Regions from separate parts of the Homo sapiens genome. Here all the other regions are linked to region 2. The links are contacts of gene promoters, found by promoter capture Hi-C in blood cells and fetal thymus (Javierre and others, 2016). All regions are on one chromosome and are shown on one strand. Each heading gives the region's core, a stretch centred on a gene start or on the middle of the fragment in contact. The rest is flanking DNA. Distances are from core to core; before and after follow the strand shown.

Region 1 (4,226 bases), core at 903-3,402, 120 kb after region 2:
GCAAAGTGGAGTTTGTATTTTCTTATGGGCCAGAGAAAATTCAAGGTATAAGCCGAGTTAGAATTCATTCTCTCACTCCTTCCTTTTATCCTGACCCTATCCCCAGCACCCTTCCACCCCTGGTCTGTTCCACAGTGATCAAGTTATTTTTGAGAGGCAGGCCATCAGTAAAGGATCTGGGTTTCAGAGTGGACCCCTAGCTAAACATGAACCAGTGACTTAATCTCTGGATAATAAAAATAAAAAAGCAGACAGAGAGGCACTGGGTTGGATAAACTGTTCTGGTCCCATTAGGTCATCAGCCTGTTATATTCAGAGACTGAGGTCCTTGGTAGATGGAGGGAGTGGCTGGCGGGCAGGGGGCACACAAAGGTGCTGGATAGAAGATGTGTATTTATGAGAACTGAGGTGATTCAACCTGAAGGCTGGTTTAATAATAACCTTGAAGCCTCTATACTGGTTATAAGTGGAGACCAGTTGTTCACCATCTTATTCGAGAATGGAATGAAAGGAGATGAAGTTAGGTTATGGGCAGAGGGACTCTGGATAGACTAAAGAAAGGACTGCCAAGCCAGGAAGGTAACTCACCCTGACAGACTTGACTAGGAGCTATGCTGTCTTTGAGCCAGGTTTTTAAAAATTTACTTATTTATTTTTATTTTACCTTAAGTTCTGGGATACACGTGCTGAATGTGCAGATTTGTTACATAGGCATATATGTGCCATGGTGGTTTGCTGCACCTGTCAACCCATCGTCTACTTTTAAGCTCTGCATGCATTAGGTATTTGTCCCAATGCTGAGCTGGGTTTTCTGTGGATGGCTGGGAGATTCTGCCGTGCCCCCTAGGTTTCTGTCTGGAGCGGAGAGCGTTTTAAGAGGGGGCAGGGCCATGCCTGGGATGACCCTTTGGAGGCTTTATGTCCTTTCAATGTCGGGGCTGTGATTTCCCTGCTGTCCCTGATCCCACGTAGCTCATAAGCAGCCTGCCCCCCACCCCCAGGGTCTGACCCCAGGGGCAGACTTTCTAGTCTCTTGGCACTGCCTCAGGAGCCCCAGGGACACAGAAGAAAAAGAGGCAGGTACCCAGCCAGGGGTCCTCCCCGCTTTCTTCCAGGGGGTCTTCATTCTTCAGTGCCTGTCCTGATTTACCCCTATGACCCGGCATGAGCCTTTTCAAGAATGTGAGAAACTAGACTCCCAGTTCTCAGTCCAGCTTAAGCCACTGGTCCCGCCCACCACGCTCAAGAAAATGAGAAGTCCCTCAGGGAGCCTCTTTTGGGGAGCTTGTGGGCTTTCTCTGTTTTTCCAGCTGCTGATCTCTTTTCCCTCTCTGCACTGTCTCCCCGACTGCCGCTGCCTTTCCCATCCCACTTAGGCATGGAGCACCTGGAGAACGGGCCGAGCGTGTCTGTGGACTATAACACCTCCGACCCCCTCATCCGCTGGGACTCCTACGACAACTTCAGTGGGCATCGAGATGACGGCATGGAGGGTAGGTGGGACCTAGTGGCTCCCAGCCCCTATCCAAACTGCACAGCCTCTGCTCACATGACCTTGCTTCTCTTGGCCTGCTTTCAAGAGATCTGGGTTCGAGAGGAGGCAGAGGGGAAGTGTGAGGTACCTCCGAGAGCTCACCGTTAACTGGGGGAAGATAAGGCACATATATGAATGTATTAAATAAAAGTGAGGACAGAGCCAAAGAAGGCAGCAAAATGGCCACAAGGGGGTTATCGTGGAAGTGTGTTGCTACAGCCAAGTAAGTTCCGTGGACAGTGAGTTCTCTGGGATTGGCAGGGAGGGATTTTGAGAGCTGGAGTGATCTGGGAAGGCTCCTTGGAGGATGTGGCCTTGAGTGGAGCTTGAGATACCCCCCACTGTGCTGCAAAAACAGCATTTGTCACATGTGTATTAAACCCACTGTTGGGTTTCTTCAGGCTTGCTGCCTGAGTTCTCTGGGGTCAGAGTACTAGGAACAGAGGCACAGGATCTAGGGCCTACAAGCTTTCATCAACAGCCAACAAAAATGTTTGAGAGCTGGGAACAAACTGATAGGCTCTGAAATTTGAAAAGAAAGCAGCAGAATTGAAATTAATACATGTTTAATTTAGCTACAAACCTAACATTATGTCAAATGGTCCACTGCAACTCAGGTCGTCTCTTGAGAGTTCTACATGCATTCTATTTATTTATGTGGTCTATCTGCATATGTGTAAGGAGACGTGGGGCGGGCTCCGAAAGTGAGCATGCCCAGAGCCCAGGAACTCTTGAGATGCCCTGCCTGGGGTTTGGCCACAAGCTTCTTTTCTTGAGTTGGTCGTAGGACTGCAGAATGTTGGAGCTGGGAGGACCTTCAGGATGGTCCAGCCCATCACCCATCTGTGTTCAGTTGGGGTGACTGAGACCCTTCCCAGAGGCAGAACCTCCTGATTTACCCCCGTGACCCAGGATGGCCCTTTCAAGGATGCCAGCACCCAGCGTCTGGCTTCTCCTCCCAGCTGAAGCCAGTCCTGGGTGGGGCTGTGCCATCCTGGGGCCCCTGGGTCCCATGGCAGAGCTAGGTTAGAGATAGGTAGGCCTGGGGGCCTCCCTGTGCCCTCTTTCCTCTACACGGCGCTGTCTTCTGTCTCCCTCCCCAAGGTTTTGGATTTGATGACTCCTCTCTGAAAATCTTTGGGCCTTTCCTTGAATAAAGATTTCTCCTCTGACCTTGGGGTCACCAGAATGAGCACAAGGTTTCAGAGAGAAGTGGGATGAGGGAGGGTGGTTGGACTAGAATTTGGGGACTCACTGAGAGCACATTTTTTTACGTGCAACATTGAAAAGTGGATGGCCTGTCCTCACACCTGCCTCAGTTCCCAACCCCTTTTCCTCCCCCAGGGGCCCAGCACCCTCAGATTGGCCAAGACACCCCACCAGGCCCCTCCGACCCCCCAGGCTGCTTGTGAAAAGCACTCCTCCATCCCCGGGCGCTGAGCGGCCAAGCAGAAAGCAGAGGCTGGAGCGAATTTGTTCTGAGGTTTCAGTGGCTGCCAGCCTAATTGGTCGTTGTGCTGGGGATGTTTGCATTTTTAACAAGAACATTTGGCAATTGGAAAGAATTTTTACTGTCTCTCCATCTCTTCTTGGTGCATGGTCAATGCGATGATAAATGTAAAAACATTTAGTAAACTATAAAGTGCCAGGCAAATAAAAGGTAAAATAATTAACGGTGAGGAGGAGATGTGGGAAAGACGGGGCTTAGGATGTATTTGGCTGTGGGGGAAGGAAGAAGAGCAGACGGTCAGAGTGGGAGGCAGCCCAGGGACAGCAGAGCCGAGAGCGGCTCCCCCTCTCGGCAGAGGGCCAGCTTCTCAGCCTCCAGACAGGGCCCCTCTGTCCTTGCAGGATGAGCTGACCTTTAACTGACCAAAAGGTCCTGCTGGTTCCATCCCTCTGTCTGAGGGAATGGATTAGAAGGGAAAAAAGGAAGGGCGAGGGGGCAGAAGAAGCGGCCAGGGCCTTCCCTCACCAACCCTCTGTCCCCTCTACCTGCCTATAGCGGCCTTCATGAGAGGCAGTTAGTATGTGGTTAAGAATGCAGCCTCTGCAGCCAAACTACCTGGCTTCAAATCCTTTGACAAGGTACTGTCCTTGGGGCCTCGGTTTGACCTGCTGTAAAATGGGAATTCAGTCAACAAATCATTTTGAGCCCCTTGTGGGCAGCACGGCCTGAGGAAGGACTGCATGTGGTGTTTTCTTGGGGGTCCGTGACACATTTGTGTCAGCTGTGGCCAGTGTGTCAGGCGCCTGCAAGACATGGCTAAGGGAGAAGGCCTGGATTTACCATGCACCAGCCATGGCACCAAGAACTTGGTAGTTGCCATTTCATTTGATGCTCCCAGCCATTCTATGACTCTTATTATGTCCAAATGGGGAAACTGGAGCACAGAGGGGTTAAGTAACCTGCCCCAGCTTGCCAAGCCAGTCAAGAGCAGATCTGGGTTTCAAGCCACCGCGTTGCCCCCTGTGCTGTCCTGGGTTGGCTGACGTCCCTAGGGGCCTGCTTTGGGCATCTGGTTTTGTGGCAGTACCTGGGTCCCACTAAGCCTAGTACCTCTCTGGCTGCTACCTCTCACCCATGGACAGAGAAAGTCAACCCATCCTGACTGTTAGGAAGAGGGAGGGTTAGGCGAGGGGGGTGTGCTGGAGCGTGGCACCCCGGAGGCCACTGGGCTTGCCCTGAGGC
Region 2 (3,777 bases), core at 555-3,054:
AGGACACTAGAGGCAGGATCTTTCCCAGCCCCAGAGCTCTGGAGGACTTGGAGAAGTATGGAGAGAGGACCCTGACTCCTCTACCGGAACAAAGACTCTTCACTCAGGTACCTGCTTTAGGAAGGGCTGGAAATTGACACTTCACTTCAGTGTCCTCCCCTGACTTCTCAGAACCACCAAACAATAGATGGTTAGTCCCTTGTGCTGTGGACAACCTGTGTATCTGAATACTGCAGTCTTTTTTTCAGATGAAGAGTCAGTGTTTCCCCTTCATTCTGGGGTTTCCCAGGTAGATGTCTTGGGTGGTCCCTGGGCTGGGAGTTGGCACAAGTGGCTGGGCAGATCCCTGTGAAAGAGGAGGCTGGTAGTTGCACGGTATGTGGTGCTGACAGACAGCGGCATGGCATGGCCTTGGGTGAGTGGGGGGGGGAGGCAGGGGATCTGTAACCCTTCGTGCATGTGGCCCCAGGGCATGTATAGCACAGTGTGCATAGGAGGCCAGGCAAGAGAACTTTTCTTGCTAAGTGACTCAGTCTAGGAACGAGGTCTCCAAGTGCCTACTCTGGGAGGGCTCTTATGTGTTGACGTGAGTTGGACTGTGTCCTTGTGTGTGTGTGTGTCCACAGGAGGGTGTGGGGCTGAGCCCTCCCTCCTTCTCCTGGACAGCTCCAAAGAACAGAGCGGGTGATTCACTGGCCCCCACCCACCCTCAGTTGGTCCAGCCAAGGCCAGAGCTCAAAGAGGAAGGGTTTTTTTTGGAGGGGAACGTGGTGGTTCCAGACAATGAAGGCCTGGGGCAGACTTTGCTGGATTCCCCCTTAGTGCTCCGTGGGAATACTTTTGGGTTTTGACCCAGCCTCCTTTCCACCCTCTAGACCCCCAACAATTGTCCCTGGGCAGAGGTGGGGGCGAGGGGAGGGGAGGGCTGGTGGGCAGGGGACACTGAGGGGAAGAAATAGGCCTGTGGAATGGTGGGAGGGGAGAACTGGGCCCAGGGAGGGGGAGAGGGGAGGAGGGGGAGGAAGTGGGGAAATGCAAACCAAATGTTGGCCCCGGGTACAGTCAAGAAAAACACACTCTCGCGGGAGCCTGGAGCGGGGCTCCCTTTCAGAAGGGCAGGAAAGGCTGGGACAGATGTTTGCAGGAAAGAAAGAAAGAAGGGGGAAAAAAAAAGAAATAGGAAAAAAATTGGAATGAAACCCACAGCCTGGGGGCAGGGCCATTCTTCCCCAGTCTCGGGCCCTATTTCTTCTGTGTTAAGGCCTGTCCTGGGCTCTGAGCTTGGCGCGTGGGCACCAGAGTCTGTCCCAGTCTGTGTGTGCAAATGCATGTGTGTTCCGAGGAGGCCAGGAAGGCAGGCACGGGTACTCAGAGAAGGGGAGGGGCCAAGGCACCCTGAGTGTGCTGATTGTGTGGGCCTGGGGCTGTCTGTTCATCCATCAGTGGTCTGGAGGGTTCCAGGAGTGAAGGCCCCCAGGCTGGTTTGCCAGGGGCGGGGGTCTGCAGTGAGGAGGGAGGACTCCAGGCCTACCAGCACCAGATCAGAAGACTGAGGAGCCTTGGTGGCACACAGGGGTTGTGTGTCCGGGGGTGGGGGGCACGGCCTGGGGGGGCCCTGCCTCTGGTAGCTTTCCCTTTTCCCTGTCCCCTTTACACCCCCTGCAAAGCAGGGTTCCTGACCCTCAAGGCCACCGGTGGAGCCTGGGAGGAGGGAGGAGAGAGGAGGCTGGGACGAGGGGTGGAGTGGGGGGAGGAGGAGGAGGAGGGAGGGTGAGCTGGAGGCAGCAGGGCGAGAGGCCCAGCAGATGCTGGCGGAGCCGGAGCAGCCGCGGACTCAGAGAGCCCTTCTGCCAGCGCCGCGGGGACTCTAGCTTCAGGGGCTCTTCACAGGCCCTGGGCGTGCCTCAGTGACGGGACCCAGCAAAGATGACGTGGATCTGTCTGTCCTGCATGCTCTGGGTAGGTCTGGCTGCTTTAGCTGCGACGTTACTCTTCCTCAAACCCCCCGCCCCCCACCGGCCCCTGCCACCTTATCCTTTTGCTGAGAGCCCGGGGTCGGGGGGTGTCAGTCTTGAAGGAGGGGCCTTTCTGTCTCTGACCTACAGAAGGACAGACTGACTTGAGCAACCCTCAGCCGGAAGACTTTCCCCACCAACAGGGCCCAGGCCCAGGGTCCCGGGTCAGTACATCCCCTGCCCCACCCCCCCACCCCCCAATGGAGTCCCAGAGCTGTAAGTGGAAGGAGGCCACAGAGAAGTTTGCTTCTCTTTAGAGCCTTTCCTCCCGACTTGCATCCTACAATGGGGTGAAAATTCTTCACCGCCCCCCCTCAGTTGCTGAGCCCAAGATCTTGAGGAGGAGGCAGTGGTGGGGCTGGGGAGCAAAGAATAGTAGTCCAAAATATTAAGTCTGGAAGAGCTGGGCTGTGGGAGAATTCTCAGAGTCCATCCCTTTTATTCCTTCTACACCCAGTTTCAGCTTCCACCCACTGCCATCCCTTCCTCCACAGCCCTCCCCTGCTACCAAGACCTCTCCATCCTGGAGGAGGGAGCCATGGCCCGCTCTTCCCCCTTTCTCTCTTGGCTCCAGGTTCAGGGAGGTGGGTTTCAGGATGGGGATGCCAGGGGGGCCAGCAGAGAGGCCTGGGGGCCACGTGGTGAAGGTTAAAAGTCTTAAGGCCAGACCTGGGCTGAGGCTCCTGGGTAAAGGGGGATGGGAGAGGGCTGCCTGCTGCAGAAGGGCTGGGGGTCAGAGGAGGAGAGGACCCCTTCCTCAGAGGGGCTCCTGTGGGGCTGTCTTGGCCAGGCAAAGGCATGCATGGGGTCAGGAGGGTGAGGAAGTCGTCCCTGGCTGAGGTTACTGTTGGGCTCTGAGAGAGTGATGGCTGGTTTGGGGGAGGGGGCTTCAGGGCTGTGATCCAGATGTGGCCTTTCCTGTCCCTTTCCTTGTTCTGGCCAGTCCTCGGGAGGGCCCTCTTGGCCCAGGCAAGCCCATGCTGGGGGCAGTTGTGGGAACACAAACTCGGGCAGCCAGGTGTCCTCTGGGCAAAGAAAGAAAGGGTGGGGGAGGGGGCCTGGAATGAGGCGGTTTGGGTGGCATGTTGGGCTGGGGTGCTGGGATGGATTGGATTAATAGATTGAGAGTGACTGGGGAGGCCTGCACACAGGATGCATTTGTGGTTTACTGGGCTGGTGTTGACATCTGGGAAATGGGAGCCTTGGCCAGGTTCGTCTCTGTGCTGAGGACAGAGGTAGGCAGGAGGGAGCTCTGCAGCAAGAAGGATGGCAGGTAGACGTCCAGGGGTGACACAAGAAGGATGGCAGGTAGACCTCCAGGGGTGACGAGCTGCTGTGACTGGAGAGAGGGCTCTATAGATCCCTTCAGCTGACTGATACTGGGAAAAGTGCCTCATCCTGGTGAGCCTCTGCTTTCCCGTTGGTGAAATGAGGATTGCAGAGAAACAGGGTACAGAGAGGTAGGGATGAAATTTTGTATCCAATTCCCCAGGGCAGTGCCTGGCAGGTAGAGTGCCCTATGGGTGTTATACCCTCCCTGAGAGTAAGGGGAAGAGTCTGGGGACCAAGGCAGCTGTGAGTGCTGCTTCCTTGAGTGTCTTTATTTTTATTTATTCATTTTTTTTTTAATTGAGATGGAGTCTCACTCTGTCACCCAGGCTGGAGTGCAATGGCATGATCTTGGCTCACTATAACCTCTACCTCCTGGGTCCAAGCAATTCTCCTGCCTCAGCCTCCCGAGTAGCTGGGACTACAAGTGCGT
Region 3 (4,154 bases), core at 1,293-3,792, 110 kb after region 2:
TGCTCCCCTTCCTGTGCTGAGGGAGAGGCTGAAATCACAGGAGCTTGTCTTGCGAGTTTTTCTGACATTCTAGTTTCTTCCTTGGAGCCAGAACAGAGAGGGGTTTTGGAGGATGGGGAGGAGGGGATGCTGCAAGTTAGCTGAGGCTCCCCGCCCTCACACCCACTTGCTTGCAGGTATGTGTGCGTGTGGCTTCTTGTCCCAGACTGGTCACCACCTACAAGAACTGTCCTTGGGTAGGCAGTTGGCTTGAGATAGAAACTTCTCCCCCACAGCTGCAATGAGAAGCTTTCCATAGGGACAAGAAGTAGCTGGGACTCAGAGTCAAACTCAAACCGGGCTCCTTACCTCTGGGTGCTGGTCCCCAGTCCCACTCAGGCCCCTGTCATCCCAACAGAGAGGTCCTGCCATGCCTCATCCTTGGCTGCCCCATCTCCACACCCCACCTGGACTGGGATTGAACCCTGGTGGAGGTCTGGATTCCTCATGGCTTCTCAGCATCTGGGGGCTTGTTCTGTCTAGTGCCAGAGAGCCCTCATCACTTTTAAATACCCCAGTGGTATTCCTTTCGCTGCCCTCCACTCTCCACTTTATCCCGCTGTGGTGAAAGGTTAGCAGAATGAAATGTCAGTGCTGCCTGCATTTGATAGAGGGGGAAGCGAGACACTAGGAGGTCAATGATTGGGGAAAAAGCTGGAGGGATGGGGGAGGTGCTTCTAGAAGCAAGAGGTGGGCTTCCCAAGTGGGCATCCTGGACCCTTCCTCTGGAAGAAAAGTTGGGAGAGATGTAAAGATGCGAGCCCCTCCCTTCCTCACCCAGTGCCCAGTGGAGAGGATGGCCAGCCCAGGGGCCTCCCCACCTCTCCGGGAAACGCATGGTGCTGGCGGCTGCCCGCCACTGCAGCAACAAGGGCTCTGTGCCCTCTTGTTTTCTGGGCCCTTAGAAATCAGGGAGGCTGCTGCCAAGAAGCAGCTCTGGCAGGCAGTGGGAGCTGCCAGAGGTGGGGAGAAGGCCAAGGAACAAAGGGCAGGAGTTGGCCTGCCTCCGGGAGGGCTGGAATGTGTGCTGTGGTCTGGCTTACCTGGAACCCAGGTGAACGTGTCACCTGAGATGCCCCCTCCCCTGAGAGGTTTCCCGCCCACTCCACAGCTCGAGAGCTAGGGGCGGGCAGTGGGAAGTCTCCGTTCCAGGGCTGGAGAGCGCCCAGCGCAGGCTCTCCTTCCTCTTCCAGAGCAGTCTGGGGCCTTTCGGGAGACTTCTGCCTGGCCAGGCAGCCAGTGTTGGGAGCCAGAGCTCCTGGGTTCCTGGGCCAGTCTGGCCCTGGCTCTGAGCTCTGGAGTCACAGGTTGAAGGCAGTGGCCAAAGGACTGATGGGAACCAAGAATTGGTGTCATCACAGTTTGGTTCTGAAATGGCCTGAGGTCCTTGCCAGCCCTACCCAGCTTGTTCTCGCCGGCACTCCCAAGCCGGCCACATTGGCCTTGCCAGAGGAAGCCTGTGGCCTTGGCCTTGGGTTGAAGAGCAGCCAAGCACCCTGGGCTGCATATGGGGGTCACACAGGGTGTGTATGGGGTGCAGCTATCTGGGGCCTTCCCTGTGGGCTGGATTCTGATATGGACCCTCCGCTGCCTGCTGTCTCCCTAGAAACATGAGTGTGAGCCGGACCATGGAGGACAGCTGTGAGCTGGACCTGGTGTACGTCACAGAGAGGATCATCGCTGTCTCCTTCCCCAGCACAGCCAATGAGGAGAACTTCCGGAGCAACCTCCGTGAGGTGGCGCAGATGCTCAAGTCCAAACATGGAGGCAACTACCTGGTGAGGATGGATCCTCGTGCCCACTGTCCTGTGCCCTCTATGCTTCCATCTGCTCACCACCTCTACATGACTGGTATCCCTGCCACCAGCCCCTGTGCCAGCATGCCCTCTTCTCTTTGTTTATCTGCCTTTCCCCTCAGGCAGCTCTCGTGCCTGAGTCTTCAATCACTCTCCAGCCCAGCTCTCCTCTAAGGAGTGTGCTGCAGCTGGAATGTAGCATCTGGAACTCTGTGTGTGCATGTGTGTGCTGGCCAGGAGAAGAGAGTACCAATAAGAGTTCAGGTTATTGAGCGCTTGCTACTAGCCAGGCCCTGTTCCAACTGCTTTCCACGCACTTAACCTTTGCAGCAGCCCTAGCAAGCAGGCACTTGCCAGAGCACAGAGAGGTGGGGTTATTTGCCTAAGGTTGCAGGGTCAGGAAGTGGCAGAGCTGGCACAGGGTCGGTGCCTCTGAGAAGTCTGAGGGCAGAGTCTTGGCAACATGTGTCTTAAGGGACCCTGGGTTGCTGGCACCTGGCTCGGCCTGGCCCAGAGGAGTCACCTTGGCACACGGGAGAGAGGTGCTGGCGGTGGTCTCCACTAACGCAGAAAGGCTGATCCGTCCTTGGCCCCAGAGGAGGGCTCAGGTCCATTTTAGAGGGAGGTGCCTGTGGACTGGACCCACAGATCTGATCTGTACAACCTCAGGTGGCTGTCCCCAGGGTGTTTGAGGTGGGATGTAGGAGGCTGCATTAGTTTCCCAGGGCCACTGTAGCAAATGAGGTGGCCCTTTCTATCCATGGGTTTCACCTCTTTGGACTCAATCCATCATGAGTTGAAAATATTCAGAAAAAACCCAACAGTAAATAACAATAAAAAACAATACAAATAAAAACAATACAGCAGAACAACTATTTGCAGAGCGTTTATATTGTATTAGGTATTACAAGTAACCTAGAGATGATTTAAAGTCTACGGAAGTATATGCATAAGTTATATGCAAATAGTACATTTTTTATATGCAAGTTATATGTAAATAGTACATATTTTATGTAAGAGACCTGAGCACCCATGGATTTTGGTATCCACTATCCATGGCGGGGTGGAGGGGTCCTAGATCCAAATCCTCCATAGACACCAAGTGATGACTCTACCTCAAATCTGGTGGCTCAAAATAACAGAAATTTATTCTCTCACAGTTCTGAAGGCTGGAAATCTGAAATCAAGGTGTTGACGGGGCCATGCTCCCTCTGAATCCTATGGCAGAGAATCCCTTCTTGCCTTTTCCTAGCTTGCGGTGGGATTCCTTGGTTTGTAGCGCATCACTCCAATCTCTACCTCCATCTCCACGTGGCCTTCTTCAGTGTCTCTCTGTGTGTCTTCTCTTCCTACAAGGACATCAATTATTGGACTTAGGGTCCACCCTAGATCCAGGTTGATGTCATATTGAGATCCTTAACTACTTACACTGGCAAAGGCACTATTTCCAAATAAGGTTGTATTCTGAAGTTCTGGGTGGACATGACGTTTTGAGGATACTATTCAACCACTATAGAGACCCACCTGTTAGCTGCATTGGGGCATTGTTAAGAGCTTGGCTTTAAACCTCAGAAAGTCCTGGGTTCAAATTCTGGCTCTGCCTTTACTAACTACATGATCTTAGCTGTTTAGCCTCACTAAGCCCTAGCTTCTGTGTCCGTAAAGTGGGTCTGAGGTCTACCTCTTATTGTTGTTGAGAGAATTAAGCCAGCTGTTAGATGTAAAGTCCTTAAGACAGGCTGACAGGTGGCAGACATTCATTGAGTGATGGCTATTGTACCATAATAAAGTGTATTCCTTTACAGAGTGCAAGAGTGGATGCAAATCCACCTATTTCTGATTTTAGGAGTCCAGGGTTCTATGGGACTTGGTGCCCTGCCACCCCTCTCTCTATCCTGCCTATTCCAGACTGGGCTGTCCCCTTTTCTCCCCAGGAGATGACACAGTGCCTTTGAGTTTCCTAGGCAGTGGGGTGGAGGTGGGAAGTTCTGCATGCCCCCCTCGGAGGTAGAGGCAGGAATTCCAGAGACTGGAGAATTCCTTAGGATTCCAGTGGTCAGGAATGGGACCCCAGTGGTCAGGCGTTGAAAGGCATGTGCTGGGAGAGGTATGTCAAGGGTCTGATTGGGCCCACCCAGGATGGTTTGCCCCTCTGATGGAGGAAGTCTGGTGACAGAGAGGTTGCAACCTCATGGGATGAGGTTCTAGGGTCAAGGTATGAAGTGGAAACCAGAGATTGCCAACTACTTATCATCTCACACAGCTGGATTCCCGTTCGGTGTGGTGAGAGGCAAGCGGAACTGGAGACAAGTTCCATCC

The links. The method cuts DNA at HindIII sites, captures the fragments that hold promoters and counts their contacts. A CHiCAGO score of 5 or more calls a contact.
Region 1: a contact is called between a fragment that was not itself captured here and the fragment with the promoter of TNS1 in region 2, in 1 of 17 cell types (M2 macrophages). The highest score is 6.3, in M2 macrophages.
Region 3: a contact is called between a fragment that was not itself captured here and the fragment with the promoter of TNS1 in region 2, in 2 of 17 cell types (megakaryocytes and M2 macrophages). The highest score is 6.2, in megakaryocytes.

The regions. Positions count from the first base shown.
Region 1 is chr2:217,878,165-217,882,390 of GRCh38, reverse strand. It overlaps TNS1 (tensin 1), which reads left to right. Exons shown (of 33, transcript NM_001387777.1): 17 at 1-45; 18 at 1,377-1,493. Among named protein-coding and RNA genes, the nearest start is that of MIR6809, 20 kb to the left of the region's middle. The HindIII fragment of the contact is 295 bases long and covers 2,005-2,299 here.
Region 2 is chr2:218,001,022-218,004,798 of GRCh38, reverse strand. TNS1 (tensin 1) reads left to right here and starts at 1,804. Exons shown (of 33, transcript NM_001387777.1): 1 at 1,804-1,959. The coding sequence starts at 1,927. RefSeq lists enhancers at 519-618, 2,359-2,859, 2,860-3,360. The HindIII fragment of the contact is 26,666 bases long and covers 1-3,777 here.
Region 3 is chr2:217,895,461-217,899,614 of GRCh38, reverse strand. It overlaps TNS1 (tensin 1), which reads left to right. Exons shown (of 33, transcript NM_001387777.1): 8 at 1,646-1,817. Among named protein-coding and RNA genes, the nearest start is that of MIR6809, 3.1 kb to the left of the region's middle. The HindIII fragment of the contact is 4,504 bases long and covers 291-4,154 here.